2 separate regions of the Homo sapiens genome follow, and region 1 is linked to region 2. The links are contacts of gene promoters, found by promoter capture Hi-C in human tissues and cell types (Jung and others, 2019). All regions are on one chromosome and are shown on one strand. The core of a region is centred on a gene start or on the middle of the fragment in contact, and the rest is flanking DNA. Distances in the headings are between cores, read along the strand shown.

Evidence for each region. The method cuts DNA at HindIII sites, captures the fragments that hold promoters and counts their contacts. A contact is called where the count stands out against the background at its distance.
Region 1: a fragment that was not itself captured here is called in contact with the fragment with the promoter of UNC13B in region 2 in 1 of the 25 tissues and cell types used here (bladder).

The regions. Positions count from the first base shown.
Region 1 is chr9:34,853,385-34,857,480 of GRCh38, forward strand. It overlaps a transcript of PHF24 not described here. Among named protein-coding and RNA genes, the nearest start is that of SPATA31F3, 40 kb to the right of the region's middle. The HindIII fragment of the contact is 5,500 bases long and covers 1-4,096 here.
Region 2 is chr9:35,159,685-35,163,913 of GRCh38, forward strand. UNC13B (unc-13 homolog B) reads left to right here and starts at 2,325. Exons shown (of 40, transcript NM_001371189.2): 1 at 2,325-2,621. The coding sequence starts at 2,600. RefSeq lists a silencer at 2,191-2,320. The HindIII fragment of the contact is 10,387 bases long and covers 1-4,229 here.

The sequences.
Region 1 (4,096 bases), core at 238-2,737, 310 kb before region 2:
TGCGTTGACGTTCATTGGGGATATTGGCCTAAAGTTTTCTTTTTTTGTTTTGTCTCTGCCAGGTTTTGGTATCAGGATGGTGATGGCCTCATAAAACGAGTTAGGGAGGAGTCCCTTCTTTTCAATTGTTTGGAATAGATTCAATAGAAATGGCACCAGCTCGGCCGGGCGCGGTGGCTCACGCCTGTAATCCCAGCACTTTGGGAGGCCGAGGTGGGCGGATCACGAGGTCAGGAGATCGAGACCATCCCAGCTAAAACGGTGAAACCCCGTCTCTACTAAAAATACAAAAAATTAGCCGGGCGTAGTGGCGGGTGCCTGTAGTCCCAGCTACTTGGGAGGCTGAGGCAGGAGAATGGCGTGAACCCGGGAGGTGGAGCTTGCAGTGAGCCGAGATCCCGCCACTGCACTCCAGCCTGGGTGACAGAGCGAGACTCCGTCTCAAAAAAAAAAAAAAAAAAAGAAATGGCACCAGCTCTTCTTTGTACCTCTGGTAGGATTCAGCTGTAAATCTGTCTGGTCCTGAGCTTTTTTGGTTGCTAGGCTATTTGTTACTGCCTCAATTTTAGAACTTGTTATTGGTCTTTTTAGGGATTCAGTTTCCTCCTAATTTAGTCTTGGGAGGCTGTATGTGTCCAGGAATTTATCCATTTCTTCTAGATCTTCTAGTTTATGTGCATAGAGGTGTTTATAGTATTCTCTGATGGTTGTTTGTATTTCTGTGGGGTCAGTGGTGATATCTCCTTTATCATTTCTGATTGTGTCTATTTGGTTCTCTCTTTTCTTTATTAGTCTAGCTAGCAGTCTATCTATTTTTTTTTTTTTTTCAAAAAAAATCAGCTTCCAGATTCGTTGCTTTTTTGAAGAGTTTTTTTGTGTCTCTGTCTCCTTCAGTTCTTTTCTGATCTTGGTTATTTCTTGTCTTCTGCTAGCTTTGGGATTTGTTTGCTCTTGGTTCTCTAGTTCTTTTAGTTGTTATGCTAGGTTGTTGATTTGAGATCTTTCTAGCTTTTTGATGTGGGCATTTAGTACTATAAATTTCCCTCTTAACACTGCTTTAGCTGTGTCCCAGAGATTCTGGTACATTGTTTCTTTGTTCTCATTAGTTTCAAAAATAACTTCTTGATTTTTGCCTTAATTTCATTATTTACCTACGAATCATTCAGGAGCAGGTTGTCAATTTCCATGAAGTTGTGTGGCTTTGAGTGAGTTTCTTAAACTTGAGTTCTAATTTTATTATGCTGTAGTATGGGAGACTGTTTGTTATTATGTCAGTTATTTTGCATTTGCTGAGAAGTATTTTTCTTCTAATTATGTTTTCAATTTTAGAGTAGGTGCCATGTGGCAATGAGAAGAATATATATCCTGTCATTTTTGGGTAAAGAGTTCTGTAGATATCGATCAGGTCCACTTTATCCAAAGCTGAGTTCAGGTCCTGAATATCTTTGTTAATTTTCTGTCTTGATGATCGGTCTAATATTGTCAGTGGGATGTTAAAATCTCCCACTATTATTGTGTGGGAGTCTAAGTCTCTTTGAAGGTCTCTAAGAACTTGTTTTGTGAATTTGAGTGCTCCTGTATTGGTGTATGTATATTTAGGATAGTTAGCTCTTCTTGTTGAATTGAATGCTTTACCATATGTAATACCCTTCTTTGGCTTTTTTGATCTTTGTTGGTTTAAAGTCTGTTTTGTCAGAAACTAGGATTATGACCCTGGTTTTTTCTGTTTTCCATTTGCTTGGTAAAATTTCCCCCATCCTTTTATTTTGAGCCTATGTGTGTCTTTGCACATTAGATGGGTCTCTTGAAGACAGCATACCAATGGGGCTTGGCTCTTTATCCAGCTTGCCATTCTGTATCTTTTAATTGGGGCATTTAACCCATTTACATTTAAGATTAACATTGTTATGTGTGAATTTGATCCTGTCATCATGATGCTAGCTAGTTATTTTGCAGACTTGTTTGTGTGGTTGCTTAATAGTGTCATTGATCTGTGTACTTCAGTGTGCTTCTTTAGTGGCTGGTAACAGTTTTTCCTTTCCCTATGTAGTGCTTATTTCAAGAGCTCTTGCAAGGCAGGCCTGGTGGTGACGAATTCCCTTAACATTTGCTTGTCCTGAAAAGGATCTTATTTCTCCTTTGCTTATGAAGCTTAGTTTGGCTGGATATTAAATTCTGGGTTAGAAATTCTTTTCTTTAAGAATGTTGAATATTGGCCCCCAATCTCTTCTGGCTTATAGTGTTTCCACTGAGAGGTCCACTGTTAGCCTGGTGGACTTCCTTTGTAGATGACCTGGCCTTTCCTTCTGGCTGCTCTTAGCATTTTTTCTTTCATTTAAACCCTGGAGAATCTGATGATTATGTGTCTTGGGGTTGATCTTGTGGAGTATCTTACTGGGGTTCTCTGGACTTCCTGAATTTGAATGTTGGCCTGTCTTGCTAAGTTGGGGAAGTTCTCCTGGATGATATCCTGAAGCATGTTTTCTGACTTGTTTTCCTTCTCCTTGTCTCTTTCAGGTACCCTAATCAGTCATAGGTTCAGTCTTTTTACATAATCCCATATTTCTCAGAGATTTCATACATTCCTTTTCATTCTTTTTCTCTATTCTTGTCTGCCTGTCTTATTTCAGAAAGATAGTCTTCAAACTCTGAGATTCTTTCCTCTGCTTGATCTATTCTGCTGTTGATATTTGTGATTGCATTATGAAGTTCTTGTGTTGTGTTTTTTAGCTCTATCAGGTCAGCTATGTTTCTCTCTAAGCTGGATATTCTGGTTATCAGTTCCTGTATTGTTTTACCATGATTCTTAGCTTCTTTGTATTGGGTTGGAACATGCTTCTTTAGCCCAGTGAAGTTCATCATTACCCACCTTCTGAAGCCTACTTCTGTCATTTCAGCCTTCTCAGCCTCAGCCTAGTTCTGTGCCCTTGCTGGAGAGGTGTTGTGATCATTTGGAGAAGAGGCACTCTATCTTTTTGAGTTTTCAGTATTTTTGTGTTGATTCTTTCTCATCTTTGTGGGCTAATCTACATTCAGTCTTTGAGTTTGCTGACCTTTAAGTGGGATTATTGTGGGGTCTTCTTGTTGATGTTATTGTTGTTGTTGCTTTCTGTTTGTTTTTCTTTTAACAGTCAGGCCACTCTTCTGTAGGGCTGCTATGGTTTGCTGGGTGTGCACTCCAGACCCCAGTTGCCTTGGTCCCTCCTGCACCTAGAGGTATTACCAGTTAAGGCTGCAAAACAGCAAAGATGGCAGCCTGCTTCTTCCTCTAGGAGCTCCGTCCCAGGGGGGCACCAACCTAATGCCAGCCAGAATGCTCCTGTAGGAGGTGTCTGGAGACCCCTGTTGGGAGGTCTCACCCAGTCAGGAGGAATGGGATCAGGGACCTGCTTAAAGAAGCAGTCTGGCTGCCCCTTGGCAGAGCAGGTGTGCTGCACTGACTGCCTGGACTCTCCAGAGCCAGCAGGCTGTAAAGAATAAGTTGGCTGAACCACAAAGACAGTGGCTGCCCCTCCCGATGGGGACTCTATCCCAGGGAGAGATCAGAGTTCTGTACATATAGCCCTGGCTGGAGTTGCTAAAATTTCTGCAGGGAGGCACCACCCAGTGAGAAGGGATGGATCAGGGTCCCACTTAACAAAACTGACTGGCCACAGTCAGGTATAGCAGTTGTGTTGCATTGTGAGGAACTCCTCCCCATCCCTGGTGCCAGCAGGCTAGAACAGCTGACTCAAACCACAGAGATGGCGGCCACTCTTCCCCCTAGGAACTTGGTCCATCTCAGGCTATCTCCAGCCTGCTGCCACTGGCCAGCTGGAATTCCAAGCCAGTAGGTCTTAACTTGTGAGGTGCCATGGGAGTGGGGCCCGTGGGATAACGCCACTTGACTCTTTAGATTCAGCCCCATTCCTAGGGGAGTGCACGGACAGAATTCCTGTCTTGCTGGAATTCCTGAGTTGGAGTATGCAAAACTCCTGGGTCTTCCTGTGTGCCCAAGCACTCTGCTGAGGCTCCACCTGGCTCTGTGCTTCAGACCCAAGGCCCTGATGGTGTAAGCTCACAAGGGGATCTCCTGGTTCCTGGGTTTCAAAGATTA
Region 2 (4,229 bases), core at 1,075-3,574:
TTCTTAAACAACGACTTCCTAGGAGAGAAAATTAAAAAAAAAAAAAAAAAAAAAAAAGGAAACAGCCAAAACCACTTCCTATAAACTGTGCTCAGCCACCCGTAACTTTGTAGCTCTTTTCCAACAATATACACACCAAGGTCAAATCCTCTCACAGTGCAAGGTCATCTCTGGCACCCAAAGCCAAAAAGGTCAGGTCATGCAATACAGGAAAACAGAGCTTTAGACCTAAGAAGAATCTGCCCATGACTCTTGAAATCCCACAAAGCCAAGAGAACACCCCAAAAGGGGGTGAGTGGCACCTTTGTTCTAAATTCTTTTTTTTTTTTTGAGATAGAGTCTTGCCCTGTCACCCAGGCTGGAGTGCAATGGCACGATCTCAGCTCACTGCAACCTCCGCCTCCCAGGTTCAAGTGATTCTCCTGCCTCTGCCTCCTGAGTAGCTGGGATTACAGGCACGTGCCACCATGCCTGGCTAACTTTTTTTGTATCTTTAGTCGAGACAGGGTTTCATCATGTTGGCGAGGCTGAGTCTCGAACTCCTGACCTCGTGATCCGCCCACCTCGGCCTCCCAAAGTGCTGGGATTACAGGCGTGAACCATGGCGCCCGGCCTAAATTCTTTAAAGAGGTTCAAGTCATTAGAAGCCTTCTCTCGATTTTTTGGTAATGCAGATGGCAAAGGGTGAAGGAGGTATAGGGTGGAAGAAAAGTAAACAAAAGAACAATTGAATTTTTTTTTTTTTTTTTTTTAATTTGAGACAGAGTCTCACACTGTAGCTCAGGCTGGAGTGCAATGGCTCGATCTCCACTCACTGCAACCTGCGCCTCCTGGTTCAAGCAATTCTCCTGCCTCAGCCTCCCGAGTAGCTGGGATTACAGGCACCCGCCACCATGCCCGGCTAATTTTTTTTGTATTTTCAGTAGAGACAGGGTTTCACTATGTTGGCCAGGCTGGCCTTGAACTCCTGACCTCGTGATCCGCCCGCCTCGGCCTCCCAAAGTGCTAGGATTACAGGTGTGAGCCACCGCGCCCGGCCTAAGAACAGTTTAATTTTTAAGACCAGGAAGCAAACACAGAAACCAAATACATGGTTTTTTGTTTTCTGTTTGTTTTTTCTTTTGCAGCTGTGAGGAATTTTACTCAAATTAGATAGGCCTTGTTACCCATAATTTGGAATTCTCACTTGGATTTGACCAAGTGAAGTAGAGTTGGTCAATGGGAAAAAGACAAACAAAATAAAAAAAAACCCAACAATATGATCACTGAGCACTCTAATGGTAAGCAGAAATTAAGACCAGCTGGTTGTTAACTTTAGCCAAGACAAAAATCCCTATTCAGCTACTTACCTAGGGGTGCGTCTCAGGCTGAAAACGGCTGTCTACCATCCCAGAAGTAGGAAAAAAACCCCTCATCTTCCCTGTTGGAAGTGAGCTCAAACTCCATAAAAGAGTTACCTGCCTTCCCTCGTCATGGAAGCAGGAAAACTTGCCTTCCTTGTTGGAAGCAAGTAAAACTCCAAAATAATAATAATAATAATAATAATAATAATAATAATAGAGGGAGTTGTACAACAAAATGAACTTTAGATCTCGACCAAATTTTGGGAGATCAGGGATTCTCTGGAGGGGGTGCTCCTAGACCTTAGCAAATTGTCCTGTTGGTTTGAGCCATGGAGTTAGCTCATGTTGGTACCAAGCATGGATAGGAGATTTGTCAAAGATCAGAGGTATCTCCACTCACAATCCCTCCGTGGTTACCATCCTTCATTCAGTAAATATTTACGGACTGATTACCATACACTAGGCACTATTCCAGACATTGGAGATACAATGATGAGCATAAAAAACGGTCTAGATAAGAACTGAGGTCTCCAGACATACTTTATGCCCACTCAGTTTTGTCTTTTGCCCTAGTTGCTAAACAAAACTTAACTTTGCTGTGCGGTGCGACTTCGTTAACTTAAAATTACAGGCTGTCAGCTATGACCGCTAGACTCTAAGAAAGTCCAGTGGAAATCCTTCAATGAAAAGAATCTGTTCTTGGGTGGAAGCCCCGCTCATGCAGGAGGAACAGAGGGCTTCCATTCTCGCGTCACACAACTGAGGGTCAACCCCTTGCTCCCTGCAGTAAGCCTGATTAGTGGGCGGAGCTTCCTTCAGGATCGCAAGAAAGAAAGGAGGAAGGGGACCCCGCCTCCTACGTGCTCGCGGGGGGGGGCGGGGTCGGTGGACTGGGCGTGAGTTAATTGGCTGGGGGGCGGGGCACCACGGGTTGGCTCCGCCCAGGCGCTCGCGCGGATCCCGGGTGGAATGACGGGAGGGAGTCCCGGCAGCTCCTACCTCCCAGCGATGGCGTCGCTGTGCCGCGCCCAGTCCCCAGCCTGCCGGCCGGTACTCACCGCTACCCGGAGTTCGCTCAGACGGTGAGATTTGGGGCGGGTCCGAGGCAGCGGCGGGACGCTACCTGCGACCGGGACCATGAGGAGCTGCCAGACCCGTGGGGCCGGTAACGAGAGCAGTCGCGGCACCTGCTGAGAGGAAAGAGGGAGCGGTCCGGCGCGGCTGGGGCGCGGCAGAGGCTTGCCCGATCCTCGGCCATGTCACTGCTCTGCGTGCGCGGTGAGTGCGCGGACTGAGGCGGGGAGGCGGGGTGTCGGCGTAGAGGTCCCCGCACCCTTCCAGTGGACGTCCGGTGACCGTCTCACCCAAACTTTACATCCCGTCCGTGCTTTGGGGGTCTATTATTTTGGCAATCACTTAACAATCACTTGAGTTCTTTCCACTTTCTTGTTTTCCCCCAAGCTCCTGCAAGGGACGATTAGCTCTCCATTCTGGTAGCCATGTGACAATGTTGTTGGACTGCAGGCTCAGATCCTATTAAACAGTGACTGGGGTTCTCTAGTGAGAGTGGACGAGTTAGAAGACCGCGGATGGTTGGTGCCTGTGAATGGTGGGCAGCCTCTCATTCTTTTCCTCCTCCTCGCACCGTAACGCTACAGTATGCTTAGTAGCAGGTTCTTTTTATCACACTTTGAATGCGTTAGTGGTACAGCTGTCACATCCCTTCTATTGCTTGTCTTGTCCCCTGCCACTTCCCTGAACACTAACCGGTAGTATAGGCTAAGATTATTCTTCTGTTCCACTTGGGAGGATGTGGTGACTGCTTTTGAGGATAAGAGGTATGATTTATTTTTATTTTTATTTTAGCTTGCCTCACAGTAACTCAAGGTGAAGGGCCATTATTGCTTTTCCCCTGAGGACACTTGACCCATCTAAGAAGATATCTTAAAGCAAGAGCTTTGGGGTTTAAGATGAGGCATGGTACGCGAACTAAGTTCTATGTGGGTAGAGACTGTTTCTTATTAGTTTTTGTATTCCTGGTGTCTGACGTAGTAGAAGCTTAATGCTGGTTTTGAATGAATGCAAGTACTGTGACTTCAGAGAGATTATCTGATCAGGAAAACACAGGGTTTGGATTAGCCATTGAATTTGATCTCGGGAAATTCAGGTTACAGCCTATCATATCTGATGTGTCTTGATTATGAATGAGAGAGCATTTATCAACTAGAGCCTTTACCTGATATCTTTTACTGGAGAGTTCATATTTCTTTTGGCTCTACAGATTAGAAGCATTGTTGTTGTTTGTGATTTCTCCAATAACGATGTTTCCCCCAGCTACTGGCAGATGAAACTGCTTTGCTCTGTTCTCTTCCACTATTTTGTTGAATCTGCATTAACCAAAATGGATTTGGCCATTTCCCGGGATTATGAGATATACAGTTTTTCTTCTTTCATGGTTGATTTTTCATTAATGAGAATTTTGCTTTGCTTTTAGTAAGACATTTTCTCTCAGCAGCTGGGAATCTATTTATTCCTTTAGATCCCTGCTGCTGAGTAGCAGGATTTGGGAGAGGTTGGACTTTGCTGTGTCTCTTGGACAGTTTAATTCTCTACGGCCACACTGTATTACAGAGCTGGTCCTTATGAAAGACTCTTTAGGCAGGAGCACTCGTGAATCAGAAATTCCTATTTAACTGAATTTATATAACTACTGGTGTTTTCATTTGTTTTAATAGCAGGCAGGTTTCATTGTCTAGAAATTCTGCTATTTAGCTAACTTCTTTCCTTTTTAATGTTACTTTAGTGAAGTTTCTTCTTTTTTGAATCTGGAGAAACGAGATCAGCAGGCCATTGTCTTTTTGAATAGAGATCTAGAAGATTTTAAAT